Regions from separate parts of the Homo sapiens genome. Here region 1 is linked to region 2. The links are contacts of gene promoters, found by promoter capture Hi-C in human tissues and cell types (Jung and others, 2019). All regions are on one chromosome and are shown on one strand. The core of a region is centred on a gene start or on the middle of the fragment in contact, and the rest is flanking DNA. Distances in the headings are between cores, read along the strand shown.

The links. Contacts are between HindIII fragments. The study calls those that stand out against the background at their distance.
Region 1: a contact is called between a fragment that was not itself captured here and the fragment with the promoter of SSX1 in region 2, in 4 of the 25 tissues and cell types used here (aorta, pancreas, small bowel and 1 more).

What each region holds. Positions count from the first base shown.
Region 1 is chrX:48,204,463-48,209,117 of GRCh38, forward strand. It overlaps the pseudogene RNA5SP503. Among named protein-coding and RNA genes, the nearest start is that of SSX5, 10 kb to the left of the region's middle. The HindIII fragment of the contact is 6,299 bases long and covers 39-4,655 here.
Region 2 is chrX:48,251,724-48,256,943 of GRCh38, forward strand. SSX1 (SSX family member 1) reads left to right here and starts at 3,669. Exons shown (of 8, transcript NM_005635.4): 1 at 3,669-3,709. The HindIII fragment of the contact is 20,804 bases long and covers 1-5,220 here.

The sequences.
Region 1 (4,655 bases), core at 1,938-4,437, 48 kb before region 2:
TACTTTTATGAATTCTTTAGACACATTTTCTCAGTTCAGTAATTGCTTTTTCAACTATATCCGTTTTAATATCCAACCTATTCCACTGAATTATTTATTTGAGCATTTAATGTTTTCATATCCAATCTATCCAATAGGTTATTTATTTATTTATTTATGATGGAGTCTTGCTCTGTCACCCAGGCTGGAGTGCAGTGGCGCGATCTTGGCTCACTGCACCTCGCCTCCTGAGTCCAAGCAATTCTCCTGCCTCAGTAGAGAATTAAAAAAAAAAATAGCTGCATTTCGTGGTGCGTACCTGTAGTCCCAGCCACTCGGGAGGCTGGGGCAGGAGGATTGCTTTGGCCCTGGAGTTTGAGGCTGCAGTGAGCTAGGATTGGGTCACTGCACTCTAGCCTAAGTGACAGAGTGAGACAAAGTCTCTGTCTCTGAAAAATAAGAAAAAAGATTGTAGGGACGATTTTACTCAGAGTGGGGAGTACTATGATATGTACACGGGCCACTGCAACGGGGTTTTGGGTTAGGAGAGTGATATCGGGATCAACTTCAACTCCACCAAGGGCAAGTGGGGATTTATAGTCAAGGAGTAGGGTCAGGGGGTCAGAAGATGGGAAATTACTTGGAGGAGACATCAGGTGCAGGCAGATTCTGGCTAAACAGACTTGACAGGAATTTTGCTGAAACAGGCTAAATGGGCAGAGTCCCTGGATGGAGAGGCATGAGCCACCTCATCCGGCCAACTAGCTTTGTTTAATATGTCAGTTTTCATAAGTAATCTAGGTATAATTGTTAAAAATGAATAAAAGAGGTAAATGTGAGATACATGTTTATAAATGAACTTTTCATGTAATTTGAAATCTTTTTTCTCTTGCTCTTATCATAGGAAGATGAAATATTAAAGTTATGTTATGTTAGATTTAGTAATAGGTACTCGTTAAATGTCGGGATCACTTCCATCTAAGAAAATAACTGATACAAATCGCTAAACATAAATACAAGTTTGTTCTTGGCCCTTAAGTTTTATAAAAGAGAAAAGATATTTGGATCTGTTAATAAAATGCCCTGTTCTACATTGAAAATGTAGAAAATTGTTCTGGCCGGGGGAGGTGGCTCACGCCTGTAATCCTAGCACTTTGGGAGGCTGAGGTGGGTGGATCACGAGGTCAAGAGATCAAGACCATCCTGGCCAACATGATGAACCCCCGTCTCTACTAAAAATACAAAAATTAGCTGGGTGTGGTGGTGGGCACCTGTAGTCCCAACTACTTGGGAGGCTGAGGCAGGAGAATCGCTTGAACCCAGGAGCAGAAGTTTCTGTGAGCCTAGATTGAGCCACTGCACTCCTGCCTGGTGACAGAGCGAGACTCCGTCTCAAAAAAAAAAAAAAAAAAAAAAAAAAAAAAAAAAATTTTTAAAGATTATAAAATATATATTCATGATATGTTAATATATAACAATTCCAAACTACTTTCTAGATTTTTACTAAAAATTAAGGTTATGGCCGGGCGTGGTGGCTCATGCCTGTAATCTCAGCACTTTGGGAGGCTGAGGCAGGTGGATCACGAGGTCAGGAGTTCGTGAGCCAACATGGCGAAACCCCGTCTCTACTAAAAGTAAAAAAGTTAGCCAGATGTGTTGGCCCATGCCTGTAATCCCAGCTACTCAGGAGCCTGAGGCAGGAGAATCACTGGAACCCGGGAGGTGGAGGTTGCAGTGAGCTGAGATTGCGACACTGCCCTCCAACCTGGGTGACAGAGCAAGACTCTGTCTCAAAAAAAAAAAAAAAAGAAAAATAGTCTATGGCCATACCACCTGAATGCACCAAATATTGCATGATCTCAGAAGTTAAACAGGGTCAGACTTGGTTGGTACTTGGATTGCAGTCCAATATAAAAATGAAAAATTGTAGGACTAAGACTGGGGGTAAAAAAATGATGGAATGTCTACGCAAGTTGCTGAGGGTTTATGAAGGATGAGCCTTGGGAAGGGAGTCTTATATATCATCTGGTTGGTTGGGATTGAAAAGAAATTGTTTATCAGTTTTTCTAAAAATTGAACATTAGTATCAAGGGTGCACTGAAGCAGGGTGAGTCTGCTCCTCTAGGTTTGAAACAGGTTTTCTTAACATGTTGATCTGTTTTTCTTTATCTTTTAAATAATCAGTCTAAAAAAACAGGGATTTTGTTTTAAGATAGTTTCTTAACTGCATTTATTAGGTTTTTGTTTTTGTTTTGTTTTCTGAGATGGAGTCTCGCTCTGTCACCCAGGCTGGAGTGCAGTGGTGTGATCCAGCCACTGTAGTAAGCAAGGTTGCTCACTGCAACCTCCATCTCCCAGGTTCAAGTGATTCTACTGCTTCAGCCTCCCGAGTAGCTTGGATTACAGGTGCCCACCACCACGGCCGGCTAATTTTTGTCTTTTTAGTAGAGATGGGGTTTCACCATGTTGGCCAGGCTGGTCTCCAACTCCCGACCTCAAGTGATCTGCCTGCCTTGGCATCCCAAAGTGCTGAGATTACAGGTGTAAGCCCCCACACCCAGCTATAATTAGCAATAATATAATAAATTTAGTTTGTACAATGGTTTTGAATGAAGATCCCAAGCCTAGGGGCCACCAGCTAAACAAATCAGAAGACTACGGGGCAATTGAGTGAGACCTCTTATAGTCTTTGAGTAGTATTTTGGGACTGGGTTGAATTAAAGCAGAGTGCCGACTCTATAAAAGGGACCACTAGGTGAAGGAAAAGATTTGGGGTCAGGTTCTGTCAAGTGAAAAATGTAGACATTCAGGGGGTAAGATTCTCATTATGATATGAAGACTTATTCTGGCATCTTGAGAAAAGCTGTCTACAGTGTGGAAACATCAACTTCTCATCCTGACTTGTCGAGCAAATGTCTCTGGTTATGGCATTGGACAGTTTGGTGAACTTTTTATGTGGTCCATACATCAGGCATGAGACTTGTTCTTTAAAATTTGTGCAGTTTCACCTTGTAGGACTTGTAAATCAAAAATAAAATCCTAAGCCCCCTGCCCCCAACCATCTGAAAAGACTTCCTCCTAAGCCAGGGCTCTTTTAAAATTTAACCTGAGAGACGGTTTCAGGCCATGACAGGAAGTGGGGGTCAGACATGCCTCATTATACTTCTCTGGCATCAACATCAACACAGACTTGAAGTCTGATAAGAAACATGTTGGCCGGGCGCGGTGGCTCACGCCTGTAATCCCAGCACTTTAGGGGGCTGAGGAGGGCGGATCATGAGGTCAGGAGATCAACACCATCCTAGCTAACATAGTGAAATCCGGTATCTACTAAAAATACAAAAAATTAGCCGGGCGTGGTGGCACATGCCTGTAGTCTCAGCTACTCAGGAGGCTCAGGCAAGAGAATCGCTCGAACCCGAGAGCCAGAGGCTGCAGTGAGCAGAGAAGGAGCCACTGCACTCTAGCCTGGCGATATAGTGAGACTCTGTCTCAAAAAGAAAAAAAAAAATGTTACAACCTATTCTCTCTGAAGCATAGTACCTGAAGGCTTCCTCTGCAAATAAGAACTCAAAAAAAACTAAGAGCGACTCACTTCACGTAATCAACTTTCACAATGGTTAAAGCAGAGTCCTGCTTAGCAATGCACAAAAATTCTCCTTTGTGACCCATTCATTTTACTGCTGTTGACTTTCTTGCTTATCCTTTCAGACAGAGACACTCTTCTTTGACCAAACTTGAGTGGGGCTCCTCTGAGTCCTGTTTCTGACTAGGCCCCAACCTCGGGCTCTGTCCTTCATCCAGGGACTCTGCCCATTTAGCCTGTTTCAGCAAAAATCCTGTCAAGTCAGTTTAGCCAGAATCCCCCTGCACCTGAGGTTTCCTCCAAGTAATTTCCCATCTTCTGACCCCCCGACCCTACTCCTTGACTACAAATCCCCACTTGTCCTTGGTGGAGATGAAGTCGATCCCAATATCACTCTCCCACTGCAAGACCCCATTGCAGTGGTCCCTGTGCCTATCACAGGAGTCCCCCCTCTGAGTAAAATCATCCTTACGATCTTTTTGTTATTTTCAGAGACAAAGTCTCACTCTGTCACTCAGGCTGGAGTGCAGTGACCCAATCCTAGCTCACTGCAGCCTCAAACTCCAGGGCCCAAGCAATCTTCCTGCCCCAGCCTCCTGAGTAGCTGGGACTACAGATACGCACTACCAAATCCAGCTATTTTTTTTTTAATTCTGTATGAACCCAGGAACTTGATATGCCCATCTAATTCTTGTGGTTTTTTTTGTTTTTGTTTTTGTTTTTGTTTTTGTTTTTGTTTTTTGTAGAGATGGGGTTTCACCATGTTGCCCAGGCTGGTCTTGAATTCCTGGGCTCAACCAATCCTCTTGCCTCAGGCTCCCAAAGTGCTGGGATTACAGGCATGAGCCACTGCAGCTGGCCCTTCCTTACAGTCTTTAATAAGTGCAATAAATACTTGTTTGCTTTAACATTTCCCTGTGTCTTCAATCTCCTCAAGTGTTATATGCCTGACATTGCCATACTCCACCAAAAATATAAAAATTCCTTTCTTTCACGGGCGCAGTGGCTTACCCCTATAATCCCAGCATATTGGGAGGCCAAGGCGGACAGATAACCTCAGGTCAGGAGTTGGAGATCAGCCTGGCCAACA
Region 2 (5,220 bases), core at 2,419-4,918:
CTGCTAGATTTCAAAATGGTTGGAAGTGGCAACTCCTTCCTTCCATTTTCTCCCATTTGAAATAGAAATATCTGTAACTATTATCCTACATCTGTCTCGCCACTTTATTTTTGGAATAAATAACTTGCTTTCTAGTGTCACAAATTCACGGCAGGAGAATTTTGCCCCAGGATGTTTCATAACCAGAGTCTCATCCATATCTGTTTTAGATGAGGAGATTTGGTACTTTTGAGCTGATCTTATATGGATAAGATGTTGGACTTCAGCTAATGTTGCACGGTTTGAGACATTTGAGGATTTGGGGATGGGGTGCATGTATTTTGCATGTGGGAGAGATGTGAATACTTGGGGGCCAGAGGGCAGGCTGTGGTAGACTGAACAACGCCCCTCCAAAAGATAGCAACATAGTAACACCTGGAACCTGTGAGTGTTAGCTTACAACAAAAAAAGTAATTATGTTGGCCAGGTGTGGTGGCTCACGCCTATAATCCCAGCACTTTGGGAGGCCGAGGCGGGTGGGTCACGAGGTCAGGAGTTCAAGACCAGCCTGGCCAAGATGGTGAAACCCCGTCTCTGCTAAAAAAAATATAAAAATTAGCTGGGTATGGTGGCGGGCACCTGTAATCCCAGCTATGCAGGAGCCTGAGGCAAAGAATTGCTTGAACCCGGGAGGCAGAAGTTGCAGTGAGCCAAGATCATGCCACTGTACTCTCGCCTGGTCAACAGAGTGAGACTCCGTCTCGAAAAAAAAAAAGTAATTATGTTAAAGCTCTTGAGATGGGGAGATTCTCCTGGATTGTCTGGATTATCTGGGTGGGCCCTAAATGTAATAATGAGTGTCCTTATCAGATTAAGGCAGGGAGATCTGACACAGACAGAAGAGAAGAAGGCAGTAAGCCTGCCATGGTTTGAACGTCCCCACCAAAACTTGTGTTGAAATTTAATTGCCATTGTTAACAATATTAAGAGGTGGGGCTGTTAGGAAGTGATTAATGCCATTATCATAAGAGTGGATTAGTTATCACGAGATTGGGTTTGTTATAAAAGGGAGCTTAGTCACATTTTCTCTGTCTGTCTCCTGCACTTGCTTTTGCCTTTCATCCTTCCATCATGACACAACCCTCACCAGATGCCAGCGCCATGTTCTTGGACTCCTAGCCTCTAGAACTGTATACCAAATGAACTTCTATCCTTTATAAATTACCCAGTTTGTGGTATTCCATTATAGTAACAGAAAACAAACGAAGGCAATGACCATGGAGGTAGAGATTAGAGTGATGCAGCCATATATTAGTCCCTTCTCACACTGCTATAAAGAGCTGCCCGAGACTGGGTAATTTATAAAAGAAAGAGATTTAACTGACTCACAGTTCTGCATGGCTGGGGAGGCCTCAGGAAACAATCATGGCCAAAGGTGAAGAGGAAGCAAAGACTTTCTTCGCATGGTAGCAGGAGACAGAAATGCAAGCAGGGGAAATGCCAGACGCTTGTAAAACCATCAGACCTCATGAGAACTCACTGTCACAAAAACAGCATGGGGAAAACCACCCCCGTGGGGATTTGTAATCTGTGGGGATTACAATTCGAGATGAGATTTGGGTGGGGACACAGAGCCAATCCATATCAAGCCACAAGCCAAGAAATGCTGGCAATCACGGGAAGCTGGAAGAGGCAAGGAACAGGTTCTCTCCTAGAGCCTCTGGAGGACTACAGCCCTGCTGACAACTTGATTTCAACTCAGTGAAACTGATTTCAGATTTCTGGGCTCCAGAATTGTGAGAGAATAAATTGATGTTGTTTATGCCACAAAGTTTGCGGTAATTTGTTACAGCAGTCAGAGGGAATATGGGGTGATTGTAAGGAGTTATGTAAATTATGTTAAAGAACCTTTGCAGTTGTAAGATGCATTCATTCATTCAACAAGTAGTCGAGGCAATATAGAAGAGTAATTAAAAGCACCGACTTTGAGGCCGGGCGTGGGATGGTTCACTCCTGTAATCCCAGTGCTTTGGGAAGCCAAGGCAGGAGGATTGCTTGAGGCCAGCAGTTCCTTCCAGATCAGCAGGGACAACATAGCAAGACCCCATCTCTAAAAAAAAATTATTTTAATTAAAAATAAATAAATACATAAATAAAAGCACAGACTTTGGACTCAATTCTATCTTGGGGGTGAATCCCAGCTCTGTCACCCACTGACTATGTGACTTTGAGCAGACTGCTTAATTCTCTTGAGCCTCAGTCTCAACATCTGCATACTGGGGATGATAATAGTATTTAACTCCAGAGAAGGTTGTGAAAATTAATGGGAAGATGCACATAAAAGGCTTTGTGCTGGGCTCAAGGGCCATTGCTCTGTTCCTGCCCTAAGAGAGCTTGCTGTAATCCTGGGAGGATCTTAGAGAGATCAGGGCTGTAGGTGGAAAGCCCAGAGAGGAATGGGGACTTGTTGGAGGTACTAGGGATGGGGGTAGGGGAAACTTCTTAGACAAATTGACTTATGAGCTCCCTGATGAACACAGTGGGCCCTAATTACATACTCTTTTTAATACTATTATTATAAATATTATTAATATCAATGGGTAAAATATATTTCTGCTTCTTTGGTCTTTTAGAAAAAAACATATATGGAAGTGTAGAAGTGTTTTTTTTTGTTTAAATTTCTTTTTTAAAAATTTTTTATAGAGATGGGGGTCTCACTATGTATCCCAGATTGTTCTGGAACTCCTGGCCTCAAGTGATCCTTCCACCTCCTGCCTCAGCCTCTCAAAGTGTTGGGATTACAGGCATGAGCCACTGGGACTGGCTCATTGAAATTTTTCTTTCTTTCTCTTTCTCTCTCTCTCTCTTTTTAAAGACAAGATCTCGCTCTGTGGCCCAGGTAGGCAGGAGTAGCCAGATCATGGCTCACTGCAACCTCGTACTCCTGGGCTCAAGCTATCCTCCTACCTCAGCCTCCTGAGTAACGGACTACAGGCACACCACCCCACCTCGCTAATTTTATTTATTTTTTTTGTAGAGAAAAGAGACAGGGTATTGCTCTGTTGCCCAGGGTGGGGTGCAGTGGCATGATCATGGCTCACTGCAACCTCTGCCTCCCAGGTTCAAGTGATCCTCCAGCTGTGGCCTCCCTAAGTGCTGGGATTACAACCGTGAGCCGCCGCACCGGCCCAAATTTCTTACGTCACTACAGAGTTCCTAGGAAAAAATCCCATACCTGAAAAAGATAGAAACTGACAGGAAGGATTTGAGATGATGACCTGCTTCATATACACTCCTTATTAAAACTGGATAACAATGCACCACCGAGGAGGTGGGGAGGGATAGGAAAAATGAAAAGAGAAAATCAGCGCATGCGTACTCTGATTTGGGAAGACTCCAAAGAGAAAATCAGAGCATGCGTACTCTGAACTTGGAGTAGCCAATCCCAGGGGATGCTTTAGGCGGGAAAGTCAGAGTTTCTGCCTCCATTTTGAGAAGGTTCTGTCCCTAGAGCCTAGACTGATAGACCCCACATCAGCTTGGCTTGTCCCGCCTACTGTTCTGACTTCTGATTGGCCAGATGGAGTTCACTAACTGCCCTGATTGGTCCATCATCCTGGAGCAATGACATTGCAGAATATTTTCTCCTCCTCCAGCCACACTTTGTCACCAACTGCTGCCAACTCGCCACCACTGCTGCCGACCTCGCAACCACTGCTTTGTCTCTGAAGTAGGTTCTCTTTAAGGGACACCCTAGATGGGCTAATCGGGGCAGATAGAAAAGGAGGAAGCCTCTGTAGGGCCGTCAAGTGCTTGGGGTTCCGAAAATCTTGAGGACTGAAAGACAACTAATGCCTTTCAGGACGATCATCATGGAGGATCCTCCCGCCTCGGCCTTGGGTCTACAGGCCTGTATTATCCCACCCCTGTTTTTTTTTTTTTTTTTTTAGTAGAGACGGGGATTTGTTATGTTGACCAGGCTGGCCTCAACCGCCTGGGCTCAAGCAATCCTCCCGCCTTGGCCTCGGGACTACAGGCACGAACCACCCCACCCTCACTAATTTTTTTTATTTTTTATTTTTTTAGTACAGACGGTTTTGCTATGTTGGCCAGGCTGGCCTCTGCCGCCTGGGCTTAAGCAATCCTTCCGCCTCGGCCCTGGGACTACAGAAGTGCACCATCCTGCCCATGCTTTTTTTTTTTTTTTTTTTAGTAGAAACCAGGTTTCACTATGTTGGCCAGGCTGGCCTCAACCTCCTGGGCTCAAGCGATCCTCACACCTTGGCCTCAGGACTACAGATGTGTGCCATTCCGCCCCTGCTAGTTTTGTTGTTGTTGTTCTTTTTAGTAGAGACAGGGTTTCCTTATGTTGGCCGAACTGGGCTTGACCTCCTCGGCTCAAGTGATCCTCCCACCTCGGCCTCGGAACTACAGGCAAGAACCACCTCGCTGATGTTATTATTTTTGTTGTTATTATTAGTAGTAGAAATGGGGTTTTGCTATGTTGGCCAGGCTGGCCTCAACCTCCTGGGCTCAAGAGATCCTCTTGCCTCGGCCTCGGAACTACAGGCGAGCACCACCCCGCCCCCACTAATACTTTTTATTTTATTTTATTTTTTTTAGTAGAGGGTTTTTCTAGGTTGGCTAGGCTGGTATCAACCTCGTGGGCTCAAGCGATCCGCCCCCCCTTGGCCAAAGAGCTGAGATGTTATAGGCCTGTGCCACCGCCCCCAGCTAATTTTTTGTGTGGTTGTTTTTTTTTTTTTTTTTTTTTTTTTGTAGAGATGAGGGGTTTGCTATGTTTCCCAGGCTGGTCTCAACCTCCTGGGCTCAAGAGATCTGCACGCCTCGGCCTCCCAAAATGCTGGGATTACAGGCATGAGCCACTGCGCCTGGCCGATTGCTGCAAATTGAAACACCCCACATTTTCTCTAAGTGATGGCAGGCTCTTGTAATCTCAGAGATTCTAGCTCTCTTCCTTCTAATAATTTACAAATAACCCAGTAATAGCTTCTAAATCTGTTCATATTAGTGAAGGTCATTTCTCTTCAACAGAACAGAACCCCCCCATCCCTCTGCCTGATCAGATCCATCACCAGAAAGACCACGTTATGTCTGGGACTCACTTCCCTCCCTTTATTTATTGAGTGGGGGTGTCAGAACGCCCCCATTCAATAAAATTACACAGTCACGTCCCTGCCTCCCCAGCAAGGGTCTGTACATCTTTCAGGGTAAGCCTAG